Linked DNA regions of Homo sapiens: region 2 is linked to region 1. The links are contacts of gene promoters, found by promoter capture Hi-C in human tissues and cell types (Jung and others, 2019). All regions are on one chromosome and are shown on one strand. The core of a region is centred on a gene start or on the middle of the fragment in contact, and the rest is flanking DNA. Distances in the headings are between cores, read along the strand shown. Region 1 holds the start of SAMD8 (sterile alpha motif domain containing 8). Region 2 overlaps ADK (adenosine kinase).

Region 1 (3,995 bases), core at 1,140-3,639:
TTTTCTTTATTCAATGGGTGTGAGAACTGACAAAGGGAAACAAAAATTAAAAAACTATTAGACATGCTAATATGTTAATTGTACAACTCCATCTAACAGTTTCTCTTTAATTTTGCAATAACATTAAGCTGTAATCTTAATAGAGTTCTTATATTGCAGTTCAGCAAATTTTTACATGCCATGACTTTTATTCACAACTAAGTATGAAGATAAGGTCTCCAGAGGATCTCACTCTAAAGATAAAACCAACAAACAGTAATATTACATAAACTTCAACTGAAGATAATTTGTATTAAGTTAAAGAAAAGGGAATTAATACTTTAACAATCTCAGCATTTTTAGCTAAGAATTCACATATCCTTTGAAGAAACAATTACTATTCCACTGTGCATCTGAGGGTATGTCACATAGCCCATACACATAAACTAATTTAAAAGCTGTTGCAAATCAAATTATCATCTCATGAAGATTAAACAGTAGATATCCATTTAGATTTAATCAAGCATTTAGAAAACGCTTGATGCTAACAAAAATTAGCCAGCCATGGTGGCGCCCACCTGCAGTCCCAGCTACTCCCAGCTACTTGGGAGGCTGAGGTGGGAGGATCACTTAAGCCTGGGCAACACAGCGAATCTCTGTCTCAAAAAAAAAAAAGAAAGGAAAGAAAAGAAAAGAAGGAAGAGAAAAGAAATGGCCAACAACTTTACAAACCTATAATCACATAAAAAGTTGTAAAACATATGAGACATGTGGCTAAAGTCAAAGACTTCATGGAACCATGTTATGACTTAACAATCACAAAAGGAAGTCAATTTATCTCTACTAAAGTGAATATAAATATTGCAATCATTCTTTTTCTGGCATAATTATGTTTTGGAACTATGTCTTCTATAAAAAGCATCTGTATACCCACCTGTCCCAGTTGTGTTGGCTGCCAACTACAAGCATCCTCTGTCCTTATTTTTCCAAATCACTCTACTAAAAATACTATTCACACAATACCTGCAAAATAGTATTTCAATATTGGTTTTGCCAATCAGTCAAAGGTACCTCTCCAATTTTCAAGAGATAAGTCCAATCCTGGGGTTATCAGTGAGAGGAAGATTTGGTATTGCGCCTAGACTGTGGCAAGTTCACTGTGCCCCCTTCACCCAGAAACTTGCATTGACCATACATTTACTATGTGGCAAATACATGTGTCAACTTAAAACTTTGAAAGTGGAACCAGTCCATGTTGAGTATCTGTAAAATCCAAGTGTCCAAATTCTTGTTTCAAGTTTAATTTTTAAAATCTGAGTATCCAAAGTCTTGTTTCAAGTTTTTAAAACTTAAAGGTAATATAGTAAATTTTTAGGATCTTAACATGTCTGGTATTTAAACTTAGCTACGAAAAAATTACAATGAAAAAAAGGACACCATTACTGTCAATAAATCCAAATGATATCTTCATTTTCAGAATCACGTCTTCCACTACCTTCTTCAAACATCACTTCCTCTCCACTACTTCCCCCAGTCCTTTAGGCAAATCAGTGATTCACACCGCCCCTTCCACCCAAGATTCTTAAAATGATCCACTGTGCACGAACGAGAAAGCCCCACGATCCAAGTACATTGCCCTAGTGATCTTTGATGTTTTAAAAGGCACCTGTAAAAATGCCAAAGCCCAAAATTAGATCCCCAAGGGCTCCTTTTCTTTCTTGACCACACTTCTCTTTTTCAGTGCCTCCCTCACCCCTTGAGGCCAGACGATTTCCCATCCAACAGCCCTCCTCCTTCTAGTCAAACCTAAATCCTGCCCTCCATCACCACCAGCCCCACCCGGGGTGGGAGGCGGATAAGAGGGCTCCGTAAGAGGAGAACCCCATGAGAGGGCTCCAGTCCCAGCCCCGATCGCCCTCCCTCGCCCTGGGAAGGGAACACCGGCCCAGGTCTTGCTCCTCTGACTCCTCATCCCCGCTGCCAAACCCAGAGCATCTCTTCTTCCGGGTCCACATTCCCGCAGGACCTTCGATCTTTTTCCCCCACTGCGCAGCTTTCAAAAGCCCCCAAGCTCTGGGCTCTTCAAGCCTCCCCCTCTCGCTCTCTCCCTCTCGTTCCTCGGCCTCCACTTATCCCTCAGCCTTCAGGCCCTCAGTTCGACAACCTCCATTTGCTTCAGATTCCATTCCAGAGCTGACTATCCCGGTTCCCTCAACCGTCTCCCCGGGGCCCCTCCAGGTCGCGGTCCCTCGGCAGCCCCCGGCTCCATCCCAGACTCCCCACTCACCCTTGGCAGCAGGCGCCCCCCAAGCTCCCCTCTCCTCAGCCTCAGCTCCCGCTCACCTCCGCGGTCCGAGTCGGGCTCCCCGGACCCACCTCCGAGTCGGCGTCCGAGCCGCCGTCGGAGTCCGGGGCCCTCCCCGCCTCGCCGGAGTGAAGCGCCTCAAGCGGCGGGGGCGGAGCCCGGGGCGGGGAGCCGGAGTGGAGGCGGGGGCGGTGGCGACTGCGCGCAGGCATCGTCCCGGCCGCCGTCACCGCCGCGCCGGCAGCTGCTCGGAGCCGAACCGGAACTGCTTCGGGAGGCGGGGCCCTACCGGCCGGGGACGGGGTTCTACCGGCAGGGGGCGGGGCCCACACTGGAAAAGACGCGAGGCTCCAGATGGGCCCGAGAGGAGAACCGAGATGCTGCCGCGGAGGAGCCCGAGGGCGCATGCGTCATGCCGGAGGCCAAAGCGACAGGAGGAAGCGGGGCTAGCGGAGCCGGGGCGGGGCCTGTGGGATCAGTAAATGGGGTTAGGGCCTAGAAGGAGGTAATCCGAATTCCTCTGGAGAGAGCCAGCTCTTCTCCAATAGCCAGCCCCCAATGATCATTGTTATAATTTATTGCCCATTTACTCTTTGACAGTGTCTATGCCAAACGCCATATAAACATCTCATTTAATCCTTGTGCTAAGGCCGGGAGCGGAGGCTCACGTCTGTAATCCCAGCACTTTGGGAGGCTGAGGCGGGATCACCTGAGGTCAGGAGTTCGAGACCAGCCTGGCCAGCATGGGGAAACCTCGTCTGTACTAAAAATACAAAAATTAGCCGGGCGTGGTGGTGCATACCTGTAATCCCAGCTACTCGGGAGGCTGAGGCAGGAGAATCGCTTGAACCCGGGAAATGGAGGTTGCAATGAGCCGAGATCACGCCATGGCACTCCAGCCTGGGCGACAAGAGCAAACTCCATCTCAAAAAAAAAATCCTAGTGCTAATTCTGCAAGGGGGATCCTATAGCACAGAAAAGTAAAGAAACATACTGCCTGACATATTGCAAACTGATATTCCAACCCAAATCTCTCTAACATCAGATCCTGTATTTTCCTCACTCCACCATGCTGCACCACCCTGAGGGAAGGTCTCCTCCCAAGCCAGGTCTAGCATTGGCATAAACCAAGTCCAAACCCAGCTGTAACCTGGACACGAGCCCCTCCTTGGTCTTGCCTCCCCACACAGTGCCGGGCCGACTTCAATGGTTCTGAATGGGATAGACATGAGTGTAGACTGCTTCCATGGGATGCCCTGGTGTGGCCTTTCCCTTCAAACTGGTCTTAAGGCCAAGGGCAGCTGGGAACCTCCCCACTGCAGCTCATACCCTTCCCAGCTCCATTAGGGCCACTGAGAAGTCACATGAGAGAGGGTGAGACATCTCATCTCTCTTGCTGATAACCAGCTCTGGCAGAAGGACAGGTTGACCTTTCTCAGTTTCTATTTTGGGACCCAAAGCCCTTATAGGCAGAGGAATCTCCCTCCCACTGTTTCTGATGACAGTTAGCCCCTTTGGCTCTCAAAGTCTAGGGCAACACTCACCTCCCGTCTCCCCATTTGACATACAAGGCCCTCTTCAGCCTTCTCTTCTGAGAAGTTAGCCATCTTCACTACAGGACCATTGTTCAAACCTTGCCCCATTGGCCCGGCACGGCGGCTCACACCTGTAATCCCAGTACTTTGGGAGGCCGAGGCAGGCTGATCACTTG
Region 2 (3,937 bases), core at 1,175-3,674, 490 kb after region 1:
GTGGAGGTTGCAGTGGGCTGAGATCGTGCCATTGCACTCCAGCCTGGGGACAGAGCAAGACTCCTCCAAAAAAAAAAAAAAAAAATTTAGACTCTTTAGTGAAGACATATTTCTACTGTTCTAAATTTCAGGTGATTCTACCATTGATTTCTGGACCCTTAAACCATGACTATCTCCTGGAAGTGGACACAAGTTTTTAATGTTAACTGCTGCTTCTATGTGGATTTAAAATGGGGTGAATATGATTTTCTTTAAAATATTATTTTAAACACCTATTTCAAACATCTATTTCTAGAGTCTATTACCAGAATTTCTAGAATTTAGTATCAGCTACAGTATCTTCCTAATTTATTATCAACTACACTAGTTGATTTATTTATTTAGTATCAACTACACTATCTCCTAATTTAGTATCAACTACACTAGTTGATTTATTTATTTAGTATCAACTACACATTTTATTAATGAGTTACCCTTTTTCTTTGAATAAAAAAATGCTTAATAAAATCCCATCTAGTGGTAATTCTTTTAGCAAACACTATAGTATAAACTTTCTCCATGACTGAATTCATTAGCCTTTTGCATTAGTCTTTATTTACCGTCTTTAAACCAAGCCAATCTTTATTAATTTTCTAAGGCATTTCCCTAGTGCTTTTACCATAATTTTTCTCTACAATTTTTCTAACCCTATCACATTTGTCTCACTATAACCCCATGGGATTGTTCATCACTAATACTTTTTAGAGGGATTATTGCAGCTTTTATTCTTTAGCATTTAATTAAAAAAAGGATTTTCATCTTTAGTATTTGTTGATCCCTCTGAAACAGGGCTTTATAAACAAATGGAAGTGTGATTCCTTTCTTTTATGGAATTACGGTAAACTGATCACAAAATGTTTCTCAGTCCAAAGGATGTCTTCTCTATATATATATATACTTTAAGCACTTAATAATGTATTGCCCAGCATAGCATTTAAATCCCATCACAATTACCATTTCAGAGATGGTTGCCCCATATCTCCCTTCTGCCATTTCTTGTAACAAATCATATGAAGGACTCTGCCTTTTGCTTTTATTACCTCATTAACTTTGAATACCTTTGTAATCTCAACTTGCCAAAATTGTAAGGATTCCTCAAGGCCTAGTTCATACATCACTTGCTTTGAAAAGCTTTCCCCAACTTCTTGTTCCATTTGTTCTATAAAAATTAGTTCATGAAAATAATATCATTTTTCACATCATATTATTTAAGTATGTCTCTTCTAGATTTCAAGAAAAGGAGTTTTTGTTTTGTTCATCTTTATAACCACAATTCTTGACATACAGTAGGCACTCAATAAAACCATAATGAATTGAATTTATTTGTGCTGTTACATTACTGCATTATCTATAAGTATCTTGCCTCTCCAACTTGTCCTGCTTGAGATTAGAGGTTCTCATGTTTTTTTTAAGTTCTATATTACCTGGCATATACTTAGCACATGATCAAGAATCTTTTCACTGGAAGAAATGTTAGAAATAAACACAGCCAAAAACCTCAACCAATACACAAATTCATTTTACCAAATATTTTTGTTTAAATATCTATAATGATTAGTGTGACCATATGGGCTGGTTTGCCCAGAACTGTCCTAGTATTATTAATAGCACCCCACTCTTTCACTCTCAAAAGCATCTGAGTTTTTCTAATAAGTTATATGGTCATCCTAATAACGAAAAAACTGCTTACTTCCTCACAAGTACTGACAGCTAAACAGCTCTATTATTGTACTTTTTGCATACTAAACCATGTAAATTACTTACAAAAACACCTGTTTTATAAACTGCCCCTTTATTATGGTAAGGGGTGGAGTTCTAGGACTAGAGGAAATAATTAAGTATAAGCAAAATTTACCATGATAAATAAATTGAATAGATGGCTAAGTGCCAAATTATTAACAAAAGAATTTGGATATTTTCTTGAGATTTTAGAATTGTTTATTAAACCAGAAAGGCTTTAAAAACACAGAAAGGTTTAAAAACACAAAAATTTAAAATTTAAAATAGCTTAACAACAGCAGAGAAAAGCTAAACAAATTTTCTGGGCCAAGGCTCAGCAAAGTTGGGGTGGAACCTTAGAAATGATGGCTTCTATTGGGATACTAAAAAAAAAAAAAAAATCAATGAATCAAAAATGATGTGAGTTCTAGAGCAGTTGAAATAGGATAAGCCAGCTTGGTTAAGACTTAAAAGAAATAAGGCAATAGTTAACTATCCATTTAAATACAGTTTTTAATATTTCACGTGTAACCAGTTTATTCCTTTTAAACAAGGAAAATTTTAGCCATTCAGTTATCTGAATCAGACTTTTCAGCTATACTTCCAAAGATTTTTTTCTGAGCCAAAAGCTTGCATGCAGTGTTTCAGCCAAAAGAAAATTTTGCCGCCAAGTTGTAATGCTCTGAAAAATGAATTTTAGAGTCTAATTGAATTTCTGAAAGAAATACTCACTGGTACAAACAATAATTATTCTGAAAAACATTTGGTAATATACCTCTTTAATTAAATATCTATTTGTATTACATTTTCAAGAGCTTTTGATTATAGAAATTGATTAGAGTTATAAACCAAAATGAATAAATTTTCTAAGAACCATTTAGACTAATGTGTGTGTATATATATATATATGCCTAGAATACATATATATTATGTATATATGTGTATATATATAAATAAAATCTATAAATGTGTAGGTAAATGTCACTATCATCTAGATATCCATTCATGCATACAAAATGCATTTACAAGATATGCACGCACAATTCTACACCAGAAAGTTTTCCAGCTCTAACAAATTCTAACTAAAGAGAAGTCTTAGAATTGGAGCATATTTGGCAAAAGCTTTGAGAAACACAGTTAAGCAAGTACGGACTAGATCATATATGGACATTTTCTTGGGTCAAAGGGCCTCTGGATGTAGTTTAGTAGGATAAAGATGCTTTATCCTACTAAAGCCTATTGGTGTTGACCTTATGATTAAGTGTAAAGAGGAATCAGCCAGTGATCCTTTAAATATATAAATTTTGAGGGATACTGTAAGACAGGGCTTTTCTAATCTTGAGGCAATTAATAATTTGGGCCAGATAATTCTTTATTGTGGATTGGCTGTCTTGTGCATTATAGTATATATAGCAGCATCCCTGGCTTTTACCCACAAAATGCCAGTGGAAGACCCAACTCTTCCATACCAGCCAGTTGTCATAACTGAAAGGAAGGGGGAAAGTTGTTTCTGGTTGAAAACCACAGATGTAAGCCAATGAGTTAACATGGTATGGAACAGATTGGACTAGTCTGGGATTCAAGAAGCCGGGTTCTTTTTTTGTTTTTTGTTTTTTGTTTTTGAGACGGAGTTTCACTCTTGTTGTCCAGGCTAGAGTGCAATAGTGTGATCTCGGCTCACCGCAACCTCCGCCTCCCGGGTTCTAACGATTCTCCTGCCTCAGCCTCCCGAGTAGCTGGGATTACAGGCATGCACCACCACACCTGGCTTATTTTGTATTTTTAGTAGAGACAGGGTTTCTCCAGGTTGGTCAGGCTGGTCTTGAATTCCCGACCTTAGGTGACCCTCCCGCCTTGGCCTCCCAAAGTGCTAGGATTACAGGCATGAGCCACCGCACCAGGCCGAGGCTGGGTTCTAATCTAGCTGCTTTTGTTTCTAATTCTGAGACCTTGGGAAAGTGACCTAATCCAGCAGTTCCCAAAGTGCGGTATGAAGAACAGTATTCCTAAGTCACATTCCTAAAAACAGTATTCCTTAATACACAGATAAGCCCACTTAACTTTCTCGGGCTATGTATTTTTCTATTTAATAATAAAAAAATGTATTCAATAAGGGACCTATTGGTTAGGCTCTAATGCCATAGCTTGTAGTAAACCAATTCCCAGACCATAAAAAGGC

The links. Contacts are between HindIII fragments. The study calls those that stand out against the background at their distance.
Region 2: a fragment that was not itself captured here is called in contact with the fragment with the promoter of SAMD8 in region 1 in 1 of the 25 tissues and cell types used here (aorta).

Annotation. Positions count from the first base shown.
Region 1 is chr10:75,110,050-75,114,044 of GRCh38, reverse strand. SAMD8 (sterile alpha motif domain containing 8) reads right to left here and starts at 2,389. Exons shown (of 6, transcript NM_001174156.2): 1 at 2,323-2,389. RefSeq lists enhancers at 1,681-2,629, 2,630-3,579 and a silencer at 2,303-2,642. The HindIII fragment of the contact is 21,981 bases long and covers 1-3,995 here.
Region 2 is chr10:74,622,451-74,626,387 of GRCh38, reverse strand. All of the region lies in intron 9 of ADK (adenosine kinase), which reads right to left. Among named protein-coding and RNA genes, the nearest start is that of ADK-AS1, 95 kb to the right of the region's middle. The HindIII fragment of the contact is 4,426 bases long and covers 212-3,937 here.